Linked DNA regions of Homo sapiens: all the other regions are linked to region 1. Evidence: promoter capture Hi-C in human tissues and cell types (Jung and others, 2019). All regions are on one chromosome and are shown on one strand. The core of a region is centred on a gene start or on the middle of the fragment in contact, and the rest is flanking DNA. Distances in the headings are between cores, read along the strand shown. Region 1 holds the start of ABHD16B (abhydrolase domain containing 16B). Region 2 overlaps RTEL1 (regulator of telomere elongation helicase 1). Region 3 overlaps GMEB2 (glucocorticoid modulatory element binding protein 2).

Evidence for each region. Contacts are between HindIII fragments. The study calls those that stand out against the background at their distance.
Region 2: a contact is called between a fragment that was not itself captured here and the fragment with the promoter of ABHD16B in region 1, in 4 of the 25 tissues and cell types used here (H1 embryonic stem cells, dorsolateral prefrontal cortex, lymphoblastoid cells and 1 more).
Region 3: a fragment that was not itself captured here is called in contact with the fragment with the promoter of ABHD16B in region 1 in 1 of the 25 tissues and cell types used here (dorsolateral prefrontal cortex).

The regions. Positions count from the first base shown.
Region 1 is chr20:63,860,205-63,862,904 of GRCh38, forward strand. ABHD16B (abhydrolase domain containing 16B) reads left to right here and starts at 1,294. Exons shown (of 1, transcript NM_080622.4): 1 at 1,294-2,700. The coding sequence starts at 1,337. It overlaps ABHD16B-AS1 (ABHD16B antisense RNA 1), which reads right to left. Exons shown (of 2, transcript NR_165314.1): 2 at 1,011-2,700. The HindIII fragment of the contact is 14,540 bases long and covers 1-2,700 here.
Region 2 is chr20:63,668,197-63,670,896 of GRCh38, forward strand. All of the region lies in intron 8 of RTEL1 (regulator of telomere elongation helicase 1), which reads left to right. All of the region lies in intron 8 of RTEL1-TNFRSF6B (RTEL1-TNFRSF6B readthrough (NMD candidate)), which reads left to right. Among named protein-coding and RNA genes, the nearest start is that of RTEL1, 11 kb to the left of the region's middle. The HindIII fragment of the contact is 4,863 bases long and covers 1-2,700 here.
Region 3 is chr20:63,612,647-63,615,346 of GRCh38, forward strand. The region is part of intron 2 of GMEB2 (glucocorticoid modulatory element binding protein 2); the gene reads right to left. Among named protein-coding and RNA genes, the nearest start is that of GMEB2, 13 kb to the right of the region's middle. RefSeq lists an enhancer at 1,313-1,482. The HindIII fragment of the contact is 4,726 bases long and covers 1-2,700 here.

The DNA of each region.
Region 1 (2,700 bases), core at 44-2,543:
ATTTGTTTATTTGTAATTCCAATTTAACTGGCATATTATTCTGTATTTTATCTGGCAACCTAGAATGGGGGTAATAGCCCCCCAAATCGCTCCCTTTGTTAATTGGTCCCTGTCTTCTGTCCCCCAACCCCTAAAGGCAGCAGCTGACTCCCCCAACTAGGGGCGGGGCCTGTTAGGGTCAGGCAGTGCCTCTAACCCAGACGCTGAGCAGGAGAGCAGAGAGGGGGTGCTTCAGCCTGAAACTACCCCTTCCCCAGAAGGCTGGGGTCCCAGGCGGGCCTGGCACCTGGGCTCAGAGGCTCTGGCTGGATTTGCCAAACTCCCTGATTGTAGCATGTTTGTTTCTGGTCTGGGGAGCTGTTGAGTACCTGGAGCTGCCCTCTTCCCTGGGGCTCCTCCTGGCAGGCGGCTTCCGACCCTGCCCTCAGGTGGGCTGGCCCTTTCCAGGGCAGGAGAAAAGATACCTCTCCAGAAAAGAGGGAGGCGCAGCCTGGGAGTGGGGGCTCGACCCAGGAGCGAGAAAGAGGAACCCCAGCCAGGCAGGACCCGCCCCAGAAGGTCACTGCTGTTGCTGGCAGCCAGTGAAAAGAGGATCCAGAAAAGGAGAGGGCTTGTTTCTGGTCAGCACCGAAGAAGGAAGGTGTGGAGAGGAGGGGCCGGGCCGAGAGCAAATACCGCCTTTTTGGTGCAGCAGCAGCCCTGTCTCTGACCCCGGCCGTCCTGGGGAGATGAGGTTTAAACCAGCAGACCCTGAAGGGAAACTTGCAGGACCCACAGCAAGCCTGGTACAGGCGGAGGAGGCCTTGCTGTCCCTTTTTGGCCCGTGGGGCTGTCCATCTTAAATTTAAGGAAGAGGGAGGCGGGGTGCAGGGACTCACACCTGTAATCCCAACACTGTGGGAGGTGGAGGCGGGGTGCAGGGACTCACACCTGTAATCCCAACACTGTGGGAGGTGGAGGCGGGAGGATCGCTTGAGCCCAGGGGTTCAAGACCAGCCTAGGCAGCATAGTGAGACCCCATCTCAATTTAATAAATAAATAAGGAAGAAAGAGGGAGACAGTAGCTGCTCAAATCATGGGTGGGAAAGCTGGGCCTGGGAGCGTTTAGCTGGTGGGGTCTTGGCGAAGGCGGGGGACGGGCAGAACCTTGGGTTCATCATCTCTGGGAACCCTTTGTGCACCCATCACCTAGCAACAGGATGCAGCCTTCCCTCCGCCCTGGAAGGCCAGGTCACAAAGGCCATCAGGGCTTGTCCGGGAGCCGGTATCCCCTAAGACTGCCCTGTGCCTCTCGCGGCGATCCCGGCCCAGCGGCTGGGCGTTAGGGCCACCGCTCATGTGCGTCATCTGCTTCGTGAAGGCGCTGGTGCGCGTGTTCAAGATCTACCTGACCGCCAGCTACACCTACCCATTCCGCGGCTGGCCCGTGGCCTTCCGCTGGGATGACGTGCGCGCCGTGGGCCGGAGCAGCAGCCACCGGGCGCTGACCTGCGCGGCAGCCGCGGCGGGCGTGTGGTTGCTGCGGGACGAGACGCTGGGCGGGGATGCGCTGGGGCGGCCTCCACGTGGGGCGCGCAGCCAGGCGCAGTGCCTCTTGCAGCAGCTCCGCGAGCTGCCCGGCCAGCTCGCTAGCTACGCGCTGGCCCACTCGCTGGGCCGCTGGCTCGTGTACCCCGGCTCCGTGTCCCTGATGACGCGCGCGCTGCTGCCGCTGCTGCAGCAGGGCCAAGAGCGCCTCGTGGAGCGCTACCACGGCCGGCGCGCCAAGCTGGTGGCCTGTGACGGCAACGAGATCGACACTATGTTCATGGACCGCCGCCAGCACCCGGGCAGCCACGTGCACGGGCCGCGCCTCGTCATCTGCTGCGAAGGCAACGCGGGCTTCTACGAGATGGGCTGTCTGTCTGCACCGCTCGAGGCCGGCTACTCCGTGCTGGGCTGGAACCACCCCGGCTTCGGCAGCAGCACTGGCGTGCCCTTCCCTCAGCACGACGCCAACGCCATGGACGTGGTGGTCGAGTACGCACTGCACCGCCTGCACTTCCCGCCCGCGCACCTGGTGGTCTACGGCTGGTCTGTTGGCGGCTTCACGGCCACCTGGGCCACCATGACCTACCCGGAGCTGGGTGCACTGGTGCTGGACGCCACCTTCGACGACCTTGTGCCGCTGGCGCTGAAGGTCATGCCCCACAGTTGGAAGGGGCTGGTGGTGCGCACCGTGCGCGAGCACTTCAACCTCAACGTGGCCGAGCAGCTGTGCTGCTACCCGGGGCCGGTGCTGCTGCTCCGACGCACGCAGGATGACGTGGTCAGCACTTCGGGCCGCCTGCGCCCCCTGTCACCTGGTGACGTGGAGGGCAACCGGGGCAATGAGCTGCTGCTGCGCCTGCTGGAGCACCGCTACCCCGTCGTGATGGCGCGAGAGGGCCGCGCCGTCGTCACCCGCTGGCTGCGCGCTGGCAGCTTGGCGCAGGAGGCCGCCTTCTATGCACGCTACCGCGTGGACGAGGACTGGTGCCTGGCGCTGCTGCGCTCCTACCGTGCACGCTGCGAAGAGGAGCTGGAGGGCGAGGAGGCCCTGGGGCCACACGGACCCGCCTTCCCATGGCTGGTGGGCCAGGGCCTGAGCTCGCGGCGGCGCCGGCGCCTCGCACTGTTCCTGGCTCGGAAGCACCTCAAGAACGTGGAGGCGACTCACTT
Region 2 (2,700 bases), core at 140-2,639, 190 kb before region 1:
GCCCTGCTTTTGTGCCCCACACTTTTTACTTAGTGCAGGTGGGATCACACGCCACGGGTCAATGGTTTGTGTGTTCACGTGACGATGGCGTGGTGACGTTTCCAGATCCCGTCGTTGGTTCGCTCATTCTCGGGGTGTATATTTATTGAGAGCTCATCATGCTGGGTGCTATTCCAGGCATAGCAAGACTGGCTTCACTCACATGGAGCTTTGATTCTAGTGGTGGGGACAGGTGGACAGCAAAAGAGTAAGCACGTGAGCTGATGATACTGAAGGGAAATAGAGCAGAGGGAGGAGGCGGAGACCGAGCCAAGCGGGCCCAAGTGCGATGTCGGCGGGAGGTGGGGAATGCTGGTGGGTCTGAGGGGAGCCTCAGCAGGTGCAGCAGAGCAAGGGAAGAGGTGAGTGGGGGCGGCTGGGGGGCCGACTCCTGGGAAGCTGTAGCAGAACCCCACAGAGAGCTGGTGAGGTTTGCCGTGGTTGTGGGTGACTCGGTGCTTTGAGCCCTGGCTGCCCCTGGGAACCATCTGGAGAGCTTCTAACCCAACCAGGCCCCTCCCTGGGACAGTTATATCACAGCTGGTAAGCCGAGTCTAACACTTTCACGGAAACGCAGAAGATCTAAAACAGCAAGATGACCGTGAAGAAGAACAGAGCTGGAGGACTCACCTCGCTGGTTTCAAGACTCCTCTAAAGCTGCAGGAGTGGAGGTGGAGATGGCCCAGCTCAGGCACAGGCCTGCAGGCCATGGAGAAGGCAGCAAGCTCAAGCTGACCCACACGCATGTGGTCATTGTTTTTTTTTTCAGTTGGAATCTCACTCTGTCACCCAGGTTGGAGTGCAGTGGCACCATCTCGGCTCACTGCAGCCCCCGCCCCTAGGTTCTAGCGATTCTCCCACATCAGCCTCCCGAGTAGCTGGGATTACAGGCGTGCGCCACCATGCCTGGCCCTTGGTGATTGTTTTTTGACAAACATGCCAATTTAATTGAGAGAGGAAATGAAGGTTGATTTCTGGTTTTCTGAAAAAATGGTGCTAAGAACAGCTGGATATCTGTTCGGAAAACAGTGAATCTTAACTCTTGTTTTACCCTGTATAAACCTAAATGTAAAAGCTAAACTAAAAGTTATAGAAAGGAACATGGGGGAGGTCTTTGCAACTTTGGGGTAGGCAGAGATTTCTTAGTATGGATACACAAGGCACTAGCCATGAAGAAAAACATTAAAATTTAGACTTCACCAAAATTTAAAGCTTCAACTCTGTGGAAGAGTTGAGAAAATGAAAAAGCAGTTAAAGAAAGGGAGAAAATACTTCTTTCAAAGGACTTAAAAAATTTTTTCAGCCCTCCTCTGATTTGAAAGGACCTTTGACCAGAGTATGTAAAATTCTCCCATAACTAAGCAAACAACCCACTTAACCACTGGGAAGGGATCTGGACAGACGTTTCACCAAGATGGGTGGAATGGCCAGTTAACCACTGGGAGAGCATCCGGACAGACGTTTCGCCAAGATGGGTGGAATGGCCAGTTAACCACTGGGAGAGCATCCGGACAGACGTTTCGCCAAGATGGGTGGAATGGCCAGTTAACCACTGGGAGAGCATCCGGACAGACGTTTCGCCAAGATGGGTGGAATGGCCAGTTAACCACTGGGAGAGCATCCGGACAGACGTTTCGCCAAGATGGGTGGAATGGCCAGTTAACCACTGGGAGAGCATCCGGACAGACGTTTCGCCAAGATGGGTGGAATGGCCAGTTAACCACTGGGAGAGCATCCGGACAGACGTTTCGCCAAGATGGGTGGAATGGCCAGTTAACCACTGGGAGAGCATCCGGACAGACGTTTCGCCAAGATGGGTGGAATGGCCAGTTAACCACTGGGAGAGCATCCGGACAGACGTTTCGCCAAGATGGGTGGAATGGCCAGTTAACCACTGGGAGAGCATCCGGACAGACGTTTCGCCAAGATGGGTGGAATGGCCAGTTAACCACTGGGAGAGCATCCGGACAGACGTTTCGCCAAGATGGGTGGAATGGCCAGTTAACCACTGGGAGAGCATCCGGACAGACGTTTCGCCAAGATGGGTGGAATGGCCAGTTAACCACTGGGAGAGCATCCGGACAGACGTTTCGCCAAGATGGGTGGAATGGCCAGTTAACCACTGGGAGAGCATCCGGACAGACGTTTCGCCAAGATGGGTGGAATGGCCAGTTAACCACTGGGAGAGCATCCGGACAGACGTTTCACCAAGGTGGATGGAATGACCAGTTGAGCACATGGAAAGTCGCCCAGCATCTCCAGTCATAGGAGAAGGCAGATTAAAGCCACGGGGAGCCGACACTGTGGTCCCACTGGCATGGCTGAAATTCAGAAGCCCTGAGTGTGGCATGAGGATGTGGAACAGCTGGATCTCATCCATCGCTGTGAAGTTGTGTAGCCACTCCACAAACGTGTGGCAAACAGCCGAGCCGGGAGAAGGGAAGACGTGTTCAAAGATTCATATGTGGCCAGGCTCAGTGGCTCACGCCTGTAATCCCAGAACTTTAGGGGCCAAGGCTGGGGGATCGCTTAAGCCCAGGAGTTTGAGACCAGCCTAGGCAACATAGGGAGACCCCATCTCAAAAAAAAAAAAAAAGAAAAAAGAAAAGACTTCAGTGTGCAGGTTTACCAGAGTTTTGTTTGCAGTTGCCAAAACTGGGA
Region 3 (2,700 bases), core at 18-2,517, 250 kb before region 1:
GAGGCCCACTTTCCTCTGCAACTGTGGGCTTACGGGGCAAAGAAGTCCAGGCCTCCAGGTGGAGGATCACAGACCGGGCAAAGCAGAGGAGAGCCACCCAGCCGAGCCTACCTGTGCCTCAGACTGCCTCCCTCCAGAGACCCCTGTGGCCAAGGCCACCCAGACCAGCAGGTCCTTGCCAAGCTGTCAGCTGACGACAGGGGTTGGTGAGGCCGGCCCAGACCAGCAGAACCACGAACCAACCAACAGAATTAAAAATAATAACAACTATGTCTTGTCTTAAGCCACTAAGTTTTGGATGGTTTCTTTCTTTCTTTTTCTTTTTTTTTTTCGGAGACGCAGTCTCACTCTGTTGCCCAGGCTGGAGTGCAGTGGCGCAATCTTGGCTCACTGCAAGCTCTGCCCCCCGGATTCACGCCATTCCCCTGCCTCAGCCTCCTGAGTAACTGGGACTACAGGTGCCTGCCATTGGGTGTTTTCTTAAACAGCAAAAGAAAACTGACACAATCATAAACAGAGCAAGCAAGAGAACTTGGCAATTATTTCCTCTCTACTTCTCACTGTTCTTCAAAGAGTTAACTCAAGCATAAGATGTGAGCAAATTCTTTTAACATCCTAGAAAAAAAGCTCCTACTCAGTGTTCATAAAGCAAAGCTAACCTACAGGAGCCACCTTCCACAGTGACCACAGGAAACCAAGACAGCAAGTGGGACACCAGCCTCCAGGGCACTGCGCCAGCCGTGCGCCTGTGTCTGCCACTGCCCTGGTCCGTCACTGCCACCAGCCGGCAAGACACCCACAGAGGAGAGCTCTAAGCCACAACTGTGTACGAAGACAACTGTGCAGGATTTTATTACTACAACATTTTTGTTTTCTTTTTTTTTTTTTTTTGAGACTGAGTCTCGCTCTGTCACCCAGGCTGGAGTGCAGTGGCACAATCTCGGCTCACTGTAACCTCCATCTCCCTGGTTCAAGCAATTCTCCTGCTGCAGCCTCCCAACTGGATTACAGGCGCCCGCCACCACGCCTGGCTAATTTTTGTACTTTTAGTAGAGACGGGGTTTCACCATGTTGGCCAGACTGGTCTCAAATTCCTGACAAGTGATCCACCCACCCTGGCCTCCCAAAGTGCTGGGATTACAGGTGTGAGCCACTGCGCCTGGCCCATTTTTGTTTATCAATAAAAATGTACTTAATGTTGAACTCTCCACATTTCAAATGGGTAACTCCAGTGTCCTTGATGCTCCTGCGACATGTTCGTGAGACTTCTCTTGGGTGTGAGAGTCTAGCATGTGGGTGGTCTGGACAGGAGGGGGAGGGAAGAGTGCAGAGCAGGGCAGGGTAAAGAGACCCCCTAGGATGTGAAGGCCGCCCTGCATTTGTCAGACTGGGCAACACCCACTCCATCAGATGGACCCTGGTATGGGCGGCAAGCCACCTAGGTGCCGAGGCAAGAGACCGAGGGCACGAGCTGTTCCGGTGTAATAAAATGCATAAAATAAGAATAGTTATACTAGATATAGATCATAAATATGATTATATATGAATATCATTCATCATTAGTTTGTAGCAATTACTCTTTATTCCAATATTATAATAATCCTTGCCTAAGCATAACCTAGGAAAAACTAGGAAATCATAACCTAGGAAAAACTAGGCCATACAGAGATAGGAGCTGAGGGGACATAGTGAGAACTGACCAGAAGACAAGAGTGCGAGCCTTCTGTTATGCCTGGACAGGGCCACCAGAGGGCTCCTTGGTCTAGCGGTAACGCCAGCATCTGGGAAGACGCCCGTTGCCAAGTGGACCGTGGTCTAGCGGTAGCCTCAGTGTCAAGGAAAAACACCCGCTACTTAGCAAACCAGGAAAGAGAGTCTCCCTTTCCCCGGGGGAGTTTAGAGAAGACTCTACTCCTCCACCTCTTGCGGAGGGCCTGACATCAGTCAGGCCCGCCCGCAGTTATCCGGAGGCCTAACCGTCTCCCTGTGATGCTGTGCTTCAGTGGTCACGCTCCTAGTCCGCCTTCATGTTCCATCCTGTGCACCTGGCTCTGCCTTCTAGATAGCAGCAGCAAATTAGTGAAAGTACTGAAAGTCTCTGATAAGCAGAAATAATGGCGTAAGCGGTCTCTCTCTCTCTCTCCTCTCTCTCTGCCTCAGCTGCCAGGAAGGGAAGGGCCCCCTGGCCAGTGGGCACGTGACCCACATGACCTTACCTATCACTGGACATGGTTCACACTCCTTACCCTGCCGCTTTGTCTTGTATCCAATAAATAGCGCAACCTGGCATTCGGGGCCGCTACCAGTCTCCGCGTCTTGGTGGTAGTGGTCCCCCAGGCCCAGCTGTCTTTTTCTTTTATCTTTGTCTTGTGTCTTTATTTCTACACTCTCTCATCTCCGCATACGAGGAGAAAACCCACCAACCCTGTGGGGCTGGTCCCTACACCCTGGCTTTGTAGACTGGAGCCTAGGCACGACTCAGCTGCTGTAGTGAATTGCGATCCTCCAAACCCAGCAAGGCACCTGCAGGACATCTGGCCCAGTCTCCTCGTTGAGCCAGTTCACGAAAAAGAGACTTTTCTGAGTGACATGCTAATGGGCAATATGAGGACTAAATGGGATGGTCTCCAACTTGGACAAACCAACAGTAAAAGCCACTTTGCGGGGAAAGAAACTTTTCCTTTTTTCTTTTTTTTGAGA